2 separate regions of the Homo sapiens genome follow, and region 2 is linked to region 1. The links are contacts of gene promoters, found by promoter capture Hi-C in blood cells and fetal thymus (Javierre and others, 2016). All regions are on one chromosome and are shown on one strand. Each heading gives the region's core, a stretch centred on a gene start or on the middle of the fragment in contact. The rest is flanking DNA. Distances are from core to core; before and after follow the strand shown. Region 1 holds the start of RPS20 (ribosomal protein S20). Region 2 overlaps TGS1 (trimethylguanosine synthase 1).

Region 1 (3,119 bases), core at 117-2,616:
GAAGACAAAACCTCAAGAAAGAGTCCTGACGGGGCGAGCGCGGTGGCTCACGCCTGTAATCCCAGCACTTTGGGAGGCCGAGGCGGGCCTGAGATCTGGAGTTTGAGACCAGCATGATCAACATGGAGAAACCCCGTCTCTACTAAAAAAAAAAAAAAAAAAAAAAAAATTAGCCGGGCATGGTGGCGCATGCCTGTAATCCCAGCTACTCCGGAGGCTGAGGCAGGAGAATCGCTTGAACCCAGGAGGCGGAGTTTGCGGTGAGCCGAGATCGCGCCATGGCACTCCAGCCTGGGCAACAAGAATGAAACTCCGTCTCACAAAAAAAAAAAAACAAAACAAACAAAAAAAAAAAACAACAAACAGGCCTGGACGGAGGGGTCAGAGCTCTGTCCCTCCCCATTTCAGAGTGTTTGAGCAAATAACTCTTTCGGCTCAGAGCTTCAGGTGGAAAGTAATATGAGATGATTTTACTCTTCTTTCTGCCCTGTATCAAAATCCATCTCAGTGATTTCCACGTATTTAGCCCCGGCTTCTTGCTCAGGTGTAGGTGAGCTCACCCTGCGCTCTCTCCCACTGCTCAGCTCAGTTGACCATTCGGGTTTTCCACTATACTTGGTCACTTATGTGATTATGAACAGATGTTCAGTATTAAGAAGACCCTGGGGGATCTTATCCAATGACTTTATCCAACAGAAAGGAGATGAGGTATCAGGACTGGGTGGCTAGCCAGGTTCCAGGCCGGGCCTCAGGATAGCTGCGCAGCCTGGCATTTTCGCCTCACTTTCCAGAAGGACGAGAAGCCAAGTTCAGGTCCTTTCCAGAAATAGATGTAGATACTTCTGCTGGACTGGGAAGCCAGGAGCTGAAATATCACAACAGGACGTTTCAGGCTATGAAAAATAACTGCTTACTAATTCTAACGTAAGTTATCCAGATTACGAGAAGCATTTCTGCCAATGCTCATGTCAGCTAAGCTCAGAGAAGTTACCTCATCCTCAGAGAGCAACGAATGGTATGGTCTATGTAGAAAGCAAAATTTGCAACGGAAAAACCAGAGTTCGTGTGCACTTTATGAGGAAGAGGGTTAGGTGCACCAGACAGAGGAGTTTCTCAGGTTTCCGTGTCGCCTGTTCTCTCGACCAGGTGGCCCTCTCGGCGCAGGCGGGGACCCCACCCTGCGGGACTTCGGCTCCTCCGTGCGGACAGGGGGCGCCCGCAGCCGTGCCTTTCCCGCCAACTCCACTAGTGCTCCAGCTCGCCCTTGTGCGACCGCCTCTAGGGCCCGGGATATTTCCTGTTCCGGGGCGTGTGGGACCCGGATGCAAGCGTGCTATATAAGCGTTGCTCAAGTCCCACCCCTTTCTTTTTGAGGAAGACGCGGTCGTAAGGGCTGAGGATTTTTGGTCCGCACGCTCCTGCTCCTGACTCACCGCTGTTCGCTCTCGCCGAGGAACAAGTCGGTCAGGAAGCCCGCGCGCAACAGCCATGGTGAGGCGGCAGTCGGCGGCGGGCGGCGCAACGCAGGGCTCGGGCGCCGGGGGGACCCCGGTTTCGAGTTCGTGCTCCTGAGGGCAGATGCCGGGGCGTGTAGGGGCGGAAAGGCGCTCCTGAAATGGTGGGGAAACGCGGGAAGCTTCCGGAAGCTGCCTTTCTCCAGAAGTGGCAGACCATTTTTGGCTTATTGTTCTTTTTCATGTATCTAATAATAGGCTTTTAAGGATACCGGAAAAACACCCGTGGAGCCGGAGGTGGCAATTCACCGAATTCGAATCACCCTAACAAGCCGCAACGTAAAATCCTTGGAAAAGGGTCAGTGCATTCGTTATGCGGGGGGGAGGGGGAATTGGGCGAAAAGCGACGAGCTTTACTCGTTAATGTTAGTGTAGAAGGTGGACTGCAAGAACTAAAGTGACAAGTTACTTAAAAAAGTAAAGCGTGGCTTAAAATTGCTTTTACTGTCATACAGCTGGCGATGAGGAGGTACCTATTGTGTTGAGTAACGGTGATAATTTTATACGCTATTCTGAGCCAGCAGAAGTGAAGGCCTTAAGCCGATTTTAATTGTTTCGATTATACTGAGAGGTCTTTTATTTCCTGTAGTGTGTGCTGACTTGATAAGAGGCGCAAAAGAAAAGAATCTCAAAGTGAAAGGACCAGTTCGAATGCCTACCAAGGTAAAGTAAATCGGAGGGGCAGGAAGTAGGAGTTGCTTCCGGATGTTGCATAAATTCAGGTTCTTTAAGGAGTTCGGCTGCCAAAATTGTTAACACTGATGCTGTCTACAAACGCACATAGAAATCGGTGGTAGATTGCGGTTCCTAGTAAGTAGCTAATGTTTAGATATGATTGTTGAATTATTGTTGCTGTGTTCTTGGTGTGCTTTGGTGCTTAACAGGCGCAAGCTCTAAGGGTGGTGTCCTAGCACAGTGAAAACAGACCTGGCATTTTCAACCCATGGTACCTGAAAATCTATTAGTGTAAATTGGAATCATACCAAAGGGAAACTAATGAAATGATTAGAAGTAATGATTTTCCAGATGTTCTAGGGATAAGTATAAAACGATAAACACTTGGTTTCCTTTGTCTTTTGTTACAGACTTTGAGAATCACTACAAGAAAAACTCCTTGTGGTGAAGGTTCTAAGACGTGGGATCGTTTCCAGATGAGAATTCACAAGCGACTCATTGACTTGCACAGTCCTTCTGAGATTGTTAAGCAGATTACTTCCATCAGTATTGAGCCAGGAGTTGAGGTGGAAGTCACCATTGCAGATGCTTAAGTCAACTATTTTAATAAATTGATGACCAGTTGTTAACTTCTGTTGGTTTTTATTCAGAATACTGGCAGATTTTAGGAATATAAAGGTGTACTATGAGACTTCCACTTTTCAGGTGGAATATATGGGTATCTTAGAGTGGTCTATCCTGTTTTCGTTGTCGTTTGAGTCATTTGAAAACTGGATTCCGTTAACTACATAATATGTGAGACCTGACTGGTTTTATTGGACACTGGCAGTTTATAACTTTGGCATACTCTAGATAAATTCTGATTGGTATGGGGTGTTAAGGTTTCTGGGGCGTTTGTAATGCACACCCATGGTTGAGAACCTAGTGCGC
Region 2 (3,125 bases), core at 444-2,943, 280 kb after region 1:
ATCATTAATTTTAGTTTTTCAAATTATATAGACCTTTCTGCAATGGTCAAGCTACAATCTATGTAAATGTTACTTAGCATCAAAGACGAACCCTAAAAAGATTTAGGGCCAATTCTTCTGTAAGAATAGAAGCAGTCTACCTTGGAAAAAAATCAAAGTTGCCTTTTAATGCAACAGTAGAGCCAGTAAGATATGTCCCAGCAAATGTTTGTTCTTTGGAATGTAAACAAGGCTCAGCATCAGATCATATACTTCTTTGCATCTTCTGTAACAAGAATATTCTTCCTATCTTGTCTTCATGACCTTCCTGAGAGTGAGTAAATTAGAATGAAGTGGTAGACATGATGGGCAACAACCCAGAATCTTCCTCTAAAGAAATGTGCCTATAAATAAATTAGGTATCTAAGTTAGACACAACAGTTACATATCTTTTTTCCTCAGCAATGCTTAGTAGCTGTTTCTGCACTCATCTATAGATGAATGCATAGGGGCTATTATATCCAACACATTACGGAAAGTCCTATGGCACTGACTGGACTAATACTAGGCAGTCTGTTTCAGATATAACTAGCACCACGAACATATTTATTAAAACATCACCAGCAGCCAACCAACCTGAAATGTAATACAAAATAAAACCAGCTATATATATGTAGCATATTTTACAAGTATGCTGAAGTTAGGGAGGACACTGTATTGAGGGGAAAAAGAGTCATCTGACTAGCCTTAAAAAACGAACAACAGAGACAGAGACATCATGGAGTCTAAGATTATGGTCTACTGTCCTGAAGAGCTGCTGGAGATGTGATTGACATGAAGGTTCTGCTCATTAGAAAGTGTTTTTTACCCCTTAGAATATAGAAAGGTAATTCATCACACCAAGCAATTTTCTAACTACTTTTGTTTCCCAGGTACTTGGATGGCAGGTATAGCAAAGTCCAATATATGAATATTTCAGGTAATAATGTGAATCAATAAATTGGCCTGTGTTTCATGCTATCAGGGTGAACTTGTTACAAGGTGTAAACTGTGACTGATCACTTCTGGAAGAACTCAGAATTAAAGCTTATAATATAAAGCTGTATCAGAATTTGGACTATTAGGATCCTACTGGTATGGTTTGGCTGTGTCCCCACCCAAATCTTATCTTGAATCATAGTTCCCATAATCCCCACGTGTTGTGGGAGGAATCAGGTAAAGATAGTTGAATCATGGGGGCAGTTTCTCCCACTCTCTTCTTGTGATGGTGAGTTAGTTCTTATGAGATCTGATGGTTTTATAAGGTGCTTCCCCCTTTGCTGGGCACTCATTTCTCTCTCTAGCTGCCATGTGAAGAAGGAGTTGTTTGCTTCCCTTTCCACCATAATTTTAAGTTTTCTGAGGCCTCCCCAGCCCTGCAGAACTGTGAGTCAATTAAACCTCTTTCCTTCAAAAATTATCCAGTCTTGGGTATGTCTTTATTAGCAGCCCGAAAACAGACTAATACACCTACCTAGCCTAAAACAGATGAGAAATTGTTCCTTGTTCTTGTCTGTTACTACATAGGCAAGGTTGTGTTTTTTTTTTGAGACAGTCTTACTCTGTCTCCCAGCCTAGAGTGCAATGGCACAATCTCAGCTCACTGCAACCTCCACTCCCAAATTTCAAGCAATTCTCCTGCCTCAGCCTCCCGAGTAGCTGGGATTACAGGCACCCGCCATCATGCCTGGCTAATTTTTATATTTTTAGTAGAGATGGGGTTTCACCATGTTGGCCAGGCTGGTCTCGAACTCCTGACCTCAGGTGATCCATCCGCCTCAGCCTCCCTAAGTGCTGGGATTACAGGTGTAAGCCACCATGCCCGGCCAAGGTTGCGTGTTTTTTTTTGAGATGGAGTTTTGCTCTTGTTGCCCAAGTTGAAGTGAAAAGGCGCGATCTCGGCTCACTGCAACCTTCGCCTCCCGGGTTCAGGCGATTCTCCTGCCTCAGCTTCCCAAGTAGCTGGGATTTCAGGCAAGCGCCACCATGCTCAGCTAATTTTGTATTTTTAGTAGAGACAGGGTTTTCCATGTTGGTCAGGTTTGTCTGGTACTCCCGACCTCAGGTGATCCACCTGCCTCAGCCTCCCAAATTGCTGGGATTACAGGTGTGAGCCACCACGCCTGACGGCTGCGTTTTTTAAATAATCTCAGACACTAGTACTTTGTAGCTTTCAAACACTTCCTTTTCACCCTACCTCAACTTGCCTTTTTTCAGATTTAGTTTACATAATATATGCCTTCAAGAAGCAAGTAAAAAAAAAAAAAATTATGTACCTTGATACCTGGTAGAAACAAGCTTCCTATTTGAATACAACAATTTTAAGAGGTCAAACTTACAAAACATGATTCTATCTACAAATATGCAACAAAATTTATACATACCTTACTCAGAATTTTGCTTTTCTTGAAAAATGGTTTTTCTGACTCTTTGGTAAAGAAGATGTGTTTGTTTTTCATCTTTATTTGTCTGCGCATGTCTAGGTACTTAGACTTAAGCTTCACATTCTTCTCTAAATACCTGACCTGCCGATGACTGAAATTTGGGATTCCACCATATCTGTGACAGATCAAAAGAAGTTATTCACAACTTAAATTCTAGGATTATATTTCCTTATAGGAAAAGAGGATGAAACTAACATTTTCACTCATTTTTACACCATTTTAATTCCCTTTTTAAAATTATGAAAATGATAAAATCAAGTTCAACTTGCAGAAGAGTTGATGGTCTAACTTTCATGTTAATTCTAAAGCAAATGTGTAACACCAAAGTTGGGAAGTGCAACATACCTAATATAGAGGAGAAAGTAGAAATTACATAGTAGACTGCAATAAATAAATAGTAAAACAAACAAACAAACAAACGAAAACCCTATCCCCTTGTTAGGGAAATATAAATATATAAATATTTTCAAGGTGGGGTGATGTCAAAGCTCTTTAACACATTTCTGGATACATTTGAATTATCTAAATCAATCTGAGCTTACAAAAGAAGCGAACCCTTCGTATCAAAATAATTAGAGAATGCCTGATTTAACCATCTGAAATTTTCCAGTCCTAAAAGATATGTATCTGCTATGAAGCCTCCTTTGATTATATTAAGCCTCA

What was found. Contacts are between HindIII fragments. The CHiCAGO score rates a contact against its expected background, and 5 or more counts as called.
Region 2: a contact is called between a fragment that was not itself captured here and the fragment with the promoter of RPS20 in region 1, in 1 of 17 cell types (total B cells). The highest score is 6.5, in total B cells.

Annotation. Positions count from the first base shown.
Region 1 is chr8:56,072,753-56,075,871 of GRCh38, reverse strand. RPS20 (ribosomal protein S20) reads left to right here and starts at 1,366. Exons shown (of 4, transcript NM_001023.4): 1 at 1,366-1,491; 2 at 1,713-1,812; 3 at 2,104-2,177; 4 at 2,600-2,818. The coding sequence starts at 1,489. The coding sequence ends at 2,782. SNORD54 (small nucleolar RNA, C/D box 54) reads left to right here and starts at 1,971; the gene lies at 1,971-2,033. CERNA3 (competing endogenous lncRNA 3 for miR-645) reads right to left here and starts at 1,280. Exons shown (of 2, transcript NR_149110.1): 1 at 992-1,280; 2 at 598-865. The HindIII fragment of the contact is 15,741 bases long and covers 1-1,638 here.
Region 2 is chr8:55,795,430-55,798,554 of GRCh38, reverse strand. It overlaps TGS1 (trimethylguanosine synthase 1), which reads right to left. Exons shown (of 13, transcript NM_024831.8): 7 at 2,403-2,577. Among named protein-coding and RNA genes, the nearest start is that of TGS1, 24 kb to the right of the region's middle. The HindIII fragment of the contact is 1,251 bases long and covers 1,068-2,318 here.